Regions from separate parts of the Homo sapiens genome. Here region 2 is linked to region 1. Evidence: promoter capture Hi-C in 16 types of primary human blood cells and fetal thymus (Javierre and others, 2016). All regions are on one chromosome and are shown on one strand. Each heading gives the region's core, a stretch centred on a gene start or on the middle of the fragment in contact. The rest is flanking DNA. Distances are from core to core; before and after follow the strand shown. Region 1 holds the start of SLC45A4-AS1 (SLC45A4 antisense RNA 1). Region 2 overlaps DENND3 (DENN domain containing 3).

Region 1 (5,091 bases), core at 1,309-3,808:
ATCCCAGCACTTTGGGAGGCCGAAGCAGGTGGATCATGAGGTCAGGAGATCAAGACCATCCTGGCCAACATGGTGAAACCCTGTGTCTACTAAAAATACAAAAGTTAGCTGGGCGTGGTGGCATGTGCCTGTAATCCCAGCTACTCAGGAGGCTGAGGCGGGAGAATCGCTTGAAGCTGGGAGGCGGAGGTTGCAGTGAGCCGAGATCACACCACTGCACTCCAGCCTGGGCAACAGAGCGAGACTGTCTCAAAAAAAAAAAAAAGTTTCATTACACAGTTTTTTGAAAAAATATTGCAGTAAGGTGACAGTTTGGAAACTCTTGTTTTAATTGAGATGTTTCTACGGTAGAGGACATTTGGAAAACTTGAAAGAATTCTCGAGGGCTGTCGTGTGGAATCGTAGCGACGTTCAGGGGACGTAAGAAGCAAATACATAGGTAGCACCACTTGAACCTTTGGTTCTTAAGGAATTAGTAGGCATTCTGGTTTCCGCTGCAGCGTGAAAGAAGATGTAGGGAAGAGCTGGGACGTAAGAGCCAGGCGCACGGCTTCCTTCCAGAACCTCCTGTACAGCGGAGTCTTCTCCCTCCTGGGGCCCACGTGCCAGGGACCCACCTTCTCCATCAGGGCTGTGTGAGAGAGGAGCCGAGTGAAGACAGCACCTCGAGGTTTCTGGTCTCCTCTGGGGAGAAAGAGAGGAGGAGCTAATTAAGACCACCTTTGGTTCGGTGGAAAGTAATGAGAAATATTTTTGTTGAAACCAGTTGTTGGAAAAATTCTCAGTAAGGTATTGGCCCATAGACCTACCTTAATATAAACTGTGAACACCATTTAGGTGTGTTTTTAGGGGCTCTAACACTTCAGTTGAACCGAACCCCATGTCTGGAGACCTAACTCCAGAAGTCCTGAACTTGGGGTGTTCCACATCCCCGATCTTATCTTACCTGAGGAGAGATTGACCTCATTTCCTAAAACATTTCCAAGGTGGCATTTCCAGTTAGCTTATTGCTGCTTTATTGTATGTGTTTGCCCAGGTGGGGAATTTGTCACCAAGCTGGGTTTGTCACTGGAGGCAGGGTGGTGGAAAGCCGAGGGTTGGGGTGATAGGGTTCCGTAGACCCTGGGAAAGCTGCGTGTGGGTTGGGAGTCTCCGAACCCCTAGGTACTATAGTCAGAGTTTGGCACATGCGTACATTTTTTTCTGGAGAAAAGGTCTATAATTTCATTTTATTCCCAAGAGGTTTTATAACCTAAAGGCCAATACCACAGGAGTCCAGGTGCCTTTGGGTAGACTTCGAACTCCCCCCGGACAGAGAATCATGCTATGCTCATTCCACCCAGCCTCCTACTTTTCATTTTTCTTTTCTTTTTGTTTTTTTTGTTTGTTTGTTTTTGTTTTTGTTTTTTGAGACAGGGTCTCACTCTGTTGCCCAGGCTGGAGTGCAGTGGTGCGATCTCAGCTTACTGCAACTTCCACCTCCCGGGTTCAAGTGATTCTCCTGCCTCACCCTCCTGAGTAGCTGGTATTACAGGCGCCCGCCACCATGCCTGGCTAATTTTTGTATTTTTAGTAGAGATGGGCTTTCGCCATGTTGCCCAAGCAGGTCTTGAACTCCTAATCTCAGGTGATCCACCTGCTTCAGCCCCCCAATGTGCTGGGATTACAGACTTAAGCCACCGTGCCCAGCTGCTTTTTATTTTTAATTTCCACCTCTCCAGGCAGGGTCTACAGTTTCCCTTTTTGGCTGGGCACGGTGGCTCACACTTGTAAATCCTAGTGCTTTGGGAGGCCGAGGCAGGGTAGATCGCTTGAGCCCAGGAGTTGGATACCAGCCAGGTCAATGTAATGGGGACCCTAGAAAAATTAGCTGGGTGTAGTGGTGCATGCCTGTAGTCGCAGCTACTCGGGAGGATGAGGTGGGAGATCACTTGATTCCAGGAGTTTGAGGCTGCAGAGAGCCATGGTCGTGTGACCGCACTCCAGCCTGGGCAACGGAGCGAGACCTTGTCACTAACAAATTAAACTTTTTTAAACAAAAGTTTTCCCTTTTGATTCTCTTTTGCCTACCTCCCCCACTTTTCCCTTCACCTCCTTACTTCCCTTTCATGATATCTGCAGCCACAAAGGGTGTCGCCAGCTGCCTCCAGCCTGCTGGAATAGTTACGTGCTGTGGTACACAGGGTGGACGATATTGTTACTGGCCAAAGAGTGAATATTTCCAGCGTTTTTCTCTGTCTGTTCTTTGATCCTGCTTTCCTTGATTGCCCCACCTTTGTCCTTCCCCAGGATTCACTTTCGTATGAGAAAATGTTTTTCTAGAAAGTAGGTTTGGTTATTTGCACAGACGTACCCAGAGTGAGTGGCAGAGAGCTGTGTGATCTTGGGTCGGGCCCTCGGGGCACACGGCTTGCTCGGGGGTCGGGCGGCGGTCCACAGGGCCATCTGGTGGCCGTCCCCTGACTCTCTGGCCGGGTTGTTTTCCTCTTTTGCAGATCATCCAGTCACTCGATGGGGATTACCAGCGGACCACCTGTTTGTATCACCTTCCCACCTCTCTGTAGCAAGAAAAATCACTTCAGCACCTCTTCAGTAATAATGATGAAACTGGTATTAACTGAATGGCAATTATGGATTTTTAACTCTAATTCACAGTAAACCAGCAAGCCATATGTTTAAAATCCAACCAAAAATCGTTCTGTGTTGCTGCATGTCTCATACCGTTGTGAGAAGTTGTGAGATAGCCACTTGTGCAAAGAGGAATGTAAGTGTTACCTGCCCGAGGAACACAGCAGAAGCAGAAAGAGAAGACGTCTTAATTTATCATTACAGATATATGAAAGCATTATTTATATAGATAGAATATATAGATAAATACATATATTTTTGGTGGTAATGAAAATGGCTCCGCAGAATGCCGACCCGGAATCTATGCAAGTTCAAGAGTTATCCGTGCCCCTGCCGGACCCGCAGAAAGCCGGAGGCGCAGAGGCCGAGAACTGCGAGACCATCAGCGAGGGGTCCATAGACCGAATCCCCATGCGCCTGTGGGTGATGCACGGGGCGGTGATGTTTGGCAGGGAGTTCTGTTACGCCATGGAAACCGCTCTGGTCACACCAATACTGTTGCAGATTGGTAAGTCTCCTCCCCGTCTGTGCGCAGTGAACGCTGAGCGGAGTGCTAGCGGACTGGGCGTGGCTCTGATCCTCTGGAGGCAGAGGATGGTGCGTCCTGGAGAGCCCCGGGCACTGGAGTCTTTGTCTCCTCTCCCTTCAGCCTGCCCTGATGGTGGTTTTCGTCTCCTGTTTTCAGCCAGGTTTGGGGAGGAGTGATCTTCGGATGTTGACGTTGAATTACAGTTTTGGCAAAGTGGTAGCTCAGCATCTGGGGCAGAATTGGCACTGATAAGTACTGGCTCTCGGCCGGGGCTCACCTCTCCCGCTGTCCCTGCCAGGCCACAGTGAACAACGAGGCAAAGGGCAGGGTCGCCAGCACTGACAGTCACTGGCTGTGTCATGCAGGCGAATTCGGGAGCCCTTCTGTGCCACACTCTGATTCTTTGTGTGTAAAGTGATTGCATTCGCAAACCAACCCTAAGAGGGTCCCAGGTGTGCTTAGAACAGTGCCTGGCTGTGGGAGATACTGGAAGATGCTGTCATCTTATCATTGTTGCTGTTGACTTGAATCCAAGGTTATTGTGGACAGTAGATGGCTCAGAGACAGGCATTTCCAAAAGCATGGAAATTCACAGGCACGCACAGGTGGGCATGAAAACACGGAAAATCACAGACGCACAGGTGGGCATGAAAACACAGAAATTCACAGACACACGCAGGTGGGCATGAAAACACGGAAATTCACAGACACACAGGTGGGCATGAAAACACGGAAATTCACAGACACGCAGGTGGGCATGAAAACACGGAAATTCACAGACCCGCAGGTGGGCATGAAAACACGGAAATTCATAGACTTGCAGGTGGGCGTGAAAACACGGAAATTCACAGACACTCGCAGGTGGGCGTGAAAACACGGAAATTCACAGACACTCGCAGGTGGGCGTGAAAACACGGAAATTCACAGACACAGGTGGGTGTGAAAACACGGAAATTCACAGACGCACAGGTGGGTGTGAAAACACGGAAATTCGCGGACACGCACAGGTGGGCGTGAAAACACGGAAATTCACAGACACGCAGGTGGGCATGAAAACACGAAAATTCACAGACACACAGGTGGATATGAAAACAGAAATTCACAGACACGGGCAGGTGGGCATGAAAACACGGAAATTCACAGACACGCAGGTGGGCGTGAAAACACGGAAATTCACAGACGCACAGGTGGGCGTGAAAACGGAAATTCACAGACGCAGGTGGGCATGAAAACACGGAAATTCACAGACACGCAGGTGGGCGTGAAAACACGGAAATTCACAGACGCACAGGTGGGCGTGAAAACGGAAATTCACAGACGCAGGTGGGCATGAAAACACGGAAATTCACAGATGCACAGGTGGGCATGAAAACACGGAAATTCACAGACACTCGCAGGTGGGCGTGAAAACACGGAAATTCACAGACGCACAGGTGGGCGTGAAAACACGGAAATTCACAGACGCACAGGTGGGCGTGAAAACACGGAAATTCACAGACGCACAGGTGGGCGTGAAAACATGGAAATTCACAGACACGCAGGTGGGCGTGAAAACACGGAAATTCACAGACGCGCAGGTGGGCGTGAAAACACGGAAATTAACAGAGACGCACAGGTTGGCATGACCAGGCTCGCATGGGCAAGATGTGGTGTCTCTTCCAGATTACCGGGCAGCAGAGCGGGGACCCTGTAGGGAGTCCCCACTGGGAGTGTCTTGGGCCCTAAAAATTTTGTCAGAATGTTTATTTTCTTTATGACCTAAGGAAGTTTTAAAAAAATCTGTCATTTTCCAAACCCTTAGCAATATAAGGTATCTGGTAAGAGGCAGACAGTTTAGAAGCATCCGTTTTATTCTAGAATTCAACATATTGCATGGTAAAGTATTTTCAAGCCTACTTATTTTGGTTGTTTTAGGGATGTTTGTTGATACAAAC
Region 2 (5,091 bases), core at 2,592-5,091, 71 kb after region 1:
TCTCTACTCAAAATACAAAAATTAGCCGGGTGTGGTGGTGCGCACCTATATAGCCCCAGCTACTCGGGAGGTCCAGGCTGCAGTAAGCAGCGATTGTGCCACTACACTCCAGCCACGGGCAATGGGAGAGGGACCCTGTCAAAAAAAAAAAAATGGTACCAGCCAATGCCTAATATATACTTAGGTATATACTCCACTGGAGTGTTCTTTTCACATTAAACATGTAAAAAAAAAAAAATCCTATCATGCTCAAGGAGTAAGGCATGAGGATTTCTCAGCAGATCCCATGATGGGGTGGCTGCTTGGAGGGTGACCAGATAGGAGGAGAGTGTAGATGCGAAAATATTTTGAAAACTATAAAATGCAATTTAAATGTGAACGTCATCTGCAAATCCATGAGCAAGAACAGGAGAAACATGGACAAAGGGCGCGCAGGCCACGGTGCGGGGGAGTGTGGGGTCTCAGAGCACGGGGAGCTACTCAGCGGCCTCTCGGGCGACAGGGAAGCGCACACAGATCCGCAGGGAGGGGCAGCTCACAGCGCTGACGGGCAAACAGGGAAAATCCCCAAGAAATGATGGTCTGCAGGCAGGAGGGGCCGCTGGGGGCCTGGAGGGATGAGCAGGGCAGGAATCCCAGCTTCCACACTCAAGATACCATGGTCATGGAAGAAGCGACACACCATGGCACTGCCAAGGACACACTACTAAAAATGTATTAACAGTTGCACTTGTTTTAAAATTATCAGAAACAATTCAAACTTGCTTTAAATCAGGGGTGTGCACTCTTGTGGCTTCCCTGAGCCACAGTGGAAGAAGAATTGTCTTGGGCCACACATAAAATACACTAACATTAACGATCGCTGATGAGCTAGAAGGAAAAAGATTGCAAAAAAAACTCAACATATGTTTTAAGAAAGTTTACAAATTTGTGTTGGGCCTCATTCAAAGCCGTCCTGGGCCACGTACAGCCTGCAGGCCACAGGTTGGACAAGCTTGCTCTAAGTGAGAGGAATAATGTGTGACGAGTGGACACTGAGTTTTGCTGGGCCCTGGTCTCTGCCACCTGGCACGTGGGGACAGGTGGATAACACTGAAGTCACTGCAGAGGCAGCTGTCTCCTCTTTTGCTCCAAAAGAGACCCAGTAACCACTGTGCCACCAGGAAACACCAGGGTTCCCAGGAAACACTGCAGGTTCATTTTAAGGCCCTGGTCCCTGGGAACCTTAGTGCTGCAGTACAGGATGGAAGACATCGTTCCCAGCCTGGGCAGCGTGGCAAAACCTCATCTCTACAAAAAATACAAAATTAGCCAGGCATGGTAGCATGCACCTGTAGTCCCAGTTACTCAGGAGACCGAGGTGGATCCCTTGAGCCCAGAAGGTCGAGGCTGCAGTGAGCCATGACTGAACCACTGCACTCCAGCCTGGGCAACAGAGCAAGACCCTGTCTCAAAAAAGAAAAAAAAGAAGGAAATTGTTCCCAAAGTGTGTGAAGCCTGTAATAAGCAGGCAGAGACCACAATGGCTCCACTTCACAGAACTGACGTCGATTTTTATTATTTTATTATTATTATTATTTGTCTGTTTGAGACAGGGTATGGCTCTGTCACCCAGGCTGGAGTGCAGTGGCGCGATCTTGGCTCACTGCAGCCTCGACCTCCCAGGCTCAGCGATCCTACCACCTCAGCTTCCCAAGTAACTGGGACTACAGGCACGCTCCACCATGCCCGGCTAATTTTTGTAGTTTTTGTAGAGATGGGGTCTCACTCTGTTGCCCAGGCTGGTCTCAAACTCCTGGGCTCAAGGCAATCCACCCACCTCAGCCTCCCAAAGTGCTGAGATTAGAGGTGTGAGCCCCTGCAATCTATTTTTAGATGGGGGCCTGAAATCTGTTTTTAGATGAGAAAGTCAAAGCCATTATCTTCTCCTTCAATAAGGACGTGTAAGTAGAAGTTTGGAACAAGCTTACATTTAATTTGAAAACTCCAGGTGAAAGTTAAGACCCCCTGTTTACAGAAACCGAGTGAGGCTGTGGAATAGCTTGTATCCTACTGTCGAATATGGATGAACACACTTGGGTTTCAGAAATCACGTGAATTCAGAGGCTTCTTTCCTGACGCTTCGTGTACTCACCACTTTTGCAGTGCCCACTTTAAAGGAGTGCTGGTGGATGGTCCATGAAGAAGCATTGAACACGGTCACCTTGCCTTCGCTCAGAGCACACCATAACTTGGGGTGAGCATCTTCAACTTTTTCGGCTGGGTCAAGATGCCCTAAAGAGGAGAGCAGCACAAAACTGTTAGGAGGAAACACTTCTGCTGTAGCAGCAGGTGACTGGTGCCCTTACTCAGGTGCCTCCTGGGCCCTCCTAAGCGCCAGGCCCATGTTAGGTGCTGTACGTACAAAGACGTGCCCAGGCAGAGGCTTCCCTGCCCTCTGGGAGCTCAGAGTCAAGGGGGGCAGCTGGCTGGTGAGAGGGCCACAAAGACAGGGTCAGAGCCGCAGGCAGATGCAGAGCCGAATGCCTGTGAGCTTTGCTAAGCCAGGACCTGCCAGCTGAGTGAGCATTCACTAGAGGAAACAGCCAGGCAGAGGGAACTGGAAGAGGAGCAGGTGGACACAGAGGGAGGGAGGCAGGGAGGGAGGGCAGCTGGAGAGACGGCGGCAGGGGCCATGGTGCCCCCCACACCCTCATGTGCAGCGGGCTCCGCGTCTTTCCCAACACTTGCTGGCGTCCGTCCATCTTTTTAATTTCGGCCATTCTAAGGGTGTGGAGCTTTTGGCTTTTAAATTGTGGTTTAATTGCATTTCTCTAATTGCTAATGAGCCTGATGGCTTGAACTGGCCATCCCCATGCCCTCTTGTGGGAAGTGTCTGTTTTTCGTTCTCCCTAGTTTGTGGCTGTTATTTTTTTTTATTTTTATTTTTTTTTACTTTTTAATAGACGAGGTCTTGCCATGTTGCCCGGGCTGGAGTGCAGCAGTGTTCACAGGTGCGATCACAGCAAACCACAGGCTCCGAGTCCAGGGCTCTGGCCACCCTCCCACCTCACTGGGACCACAGGCACGCCCGGCCAGCTGTTCCGGTGTTCTGGATATGAGCCCCTAACTGACTCCATGGTGCTGTATTCATAAATTACGTATGACATATAAAAATACCATAAAGCAAAAGACTGGTGAATCTGACTACATTAAAAGCAATGATTTTAGCAGCACCCATTTTAAAGATCCTTCCCAGTCTGCAGCTTACATTTTCACCCTCTCAAAAGTGTCTTCTGTCCATTTCCTGTGGCAGGGTCTGGGGAAGAGGCTGTAGGCGCCGTGTCCGGCCATGAAGATGGCAAGAAGCCTCTGAGACAGCCCAAGAAGCAGGCCCAGGAGAGGGACAGAGATGATGAGGCTTCCAGCAGAAAGCAAAACAGACCAGAACCTCAAGGGGCCGAAAGCACAGGCCGCAGGGAGGCCCAGCCACAGCTGGAACTAAGACCCCTGGCGGAAAGCACGCTGCTCCCTCTGCCTGGGCGGTGGCGGCCTGGACTCCACTCCTGTTTCAACACCTGCACCCCCGCCAGGACAGCTTTTGCCATCTTCAGCTAGAGTGAGCGTTGCCCTGGAGCCTGTTGCACTTTCAAGCATAAACTTTTCTTTTTTTTTTTAAATTAAAAAAAAAAAAAAACAAAACAAAAAACTGACAGTGTCACCGGACGTCTTCAGTGGCTTCTCACCCGTCATTCCCACCTGAGCCTGCCAGAGGGCGCTCTTTGGTCTTCTACCCTCAATTTTGTGTCACCGTGAATTAAACCAGCTCATTTGAAAGGAGGAAAAAAAAAGTGTCTTCTTTTTAAAATCATTGCTTTTGGCCAGTTGTGGTGGCTCACGCCTCTAACCCAGCGCTTTGGAGTCCAAAACCGGCAGACTGCTCAAGCTCAGGAGTTCAAGACCAGCCTGAGCAATACGGCAAAACTCCATCTCTACAAAAAAAAAAAAAAAAAATACAAAAATTGGCTGGGCATAGTGGTGTGCACCTGCAGTCCAGCTAATCAGGAGGCCGAGGGCGGAGGATCGCTAGAGCCCAGGAGGCAGAGGTTGCAGTGAGGTGTGATCGCGCCACTGCACCTGGGTGACAGAGTCAGACCCTGTCTCAGAAAAAATAAAAATAATAAAGTCATTGCTTTTAATATAGTCAAATTCAACATTCTTTTCCTTTATGGTATTTTATATATAATTTATGCATTTTTTTCTTTACCATAAAGTCATGAAAATATTCTTCTACCCTATCACCTAGAAGTCTGCTTGCTTTCATTGTTCACATTTGCCTTTTACCACCGCGTTGAGGTTTCGGCCCCCTTGGGCCTGACCGCAGGGCAGTGTGAAGGGGCGAGGTTTCACCTTTCCCCTGAGGATATTCAAGCGACCCCCCGCCCTGCAGTGCTGCCTCCGTCCTGAGTCCAGAAGGGCAGGCCTCCCGGTCTTTCTGGGGTGCGATTCCAGTGGTCTGTTGCTCCCATGGGTGAGACACTGCCGTCTCTGAGAGGCACGCTCCCCATGGGCAGAGCCTGAGCTGACCTGTGGCCTGGCCTCAGGGCTGGTTCTCCTAACTCCTAGGAACCTGTCGGAGACCCAGCCCCAAGCTAATGGGAATAACAAGACTCCCCCTTCTTGATGGGGCCTGACCCCACCTCTTGTCCCTGCAATCTCACAAGGCTTGCAAAAGCCCTGCTCGGCTACCAGCTTCTCGGCCACCCCTTCCAGAATCGGCAGCCACAGGAAAAGGCGGTTTCCCCATTCCCCACGGCTGCTTTGCACGCTCTCTGCAGGCCTTCGAGATGCTCCTGGAGGGGAAGCCGCCTGAACTCCTCGCCCGTCACAACAGGAAGCTCAGAGTGAGTTTCATTTCAGGGAAACCAACCGGGACCTAAAAATACCATGTATTCAAATGCCACGGTCAAAGTATCTTGGTCTGTGGAGTCATCTCTGGCGAAGTCAGCACAGAGCCTGGCTTAGACACATCAGGTAGGGCTCACGCGGGGCGGCCCTGATGACGCTGCCTGCTCACTCAGCCAGGGTCTATCGCGTTCCTGGGTTTCTTGG

Evidence for each region. Contacts are between HindIII fragments. The CHiCAGO score rates a contact against its expected background, and 5 or more counts as called.
Region 2: a contact is called between a fragment that was not itself captured here and the fragment with the promoter of SLC45A4-AS1 in region 1, in 1 of 17 cell types (neutrophils). The highest score is 9.1, in neutrophils.

What each region holds. Positions count from the first base shown.
Region 1 is chr8:141,252,034-141,257,124 of GRCh38, reverse strand. It overlaps SLC45A4-AS1 (SLC45A4 antisense RNA 1), which reads right to left and starts at 2,558. Exons shown (of 2, transcript NR_161376.1): 1 at 2,354-2,558; 2 at 308-684. SLC45A4 (solute carrier family 45 member 4) reads left to right here. Exons shown (of 9, transcript NM_001286646.2): 2 at 2,496-3,136. The coding sequence starts at 2,896. The HindIII fragment of the contact is 11,163 bases long and covers 1-5,091 here.
Region 2 is chr8:141,182,322-141,187,412 of GRCh38, reverse strand. It overlaps DENND3 (DENN domain containing 3), which reads right to left. Exons shown (of 23, transcript NM_001352890.3): 18 at 2,135-2,274. Among named protein-coding and RNA genes, the nearest start is that of DENND3-AS1, 55 kb to the right of the region's middle. RefSeq lists enhancers at 2,057-3,011, 3,712-3,851, 3,932-3,981, 4,742-4,851. The HindIII fragment of the contact is 3,747 bases long and covers 1,968-5,091 here.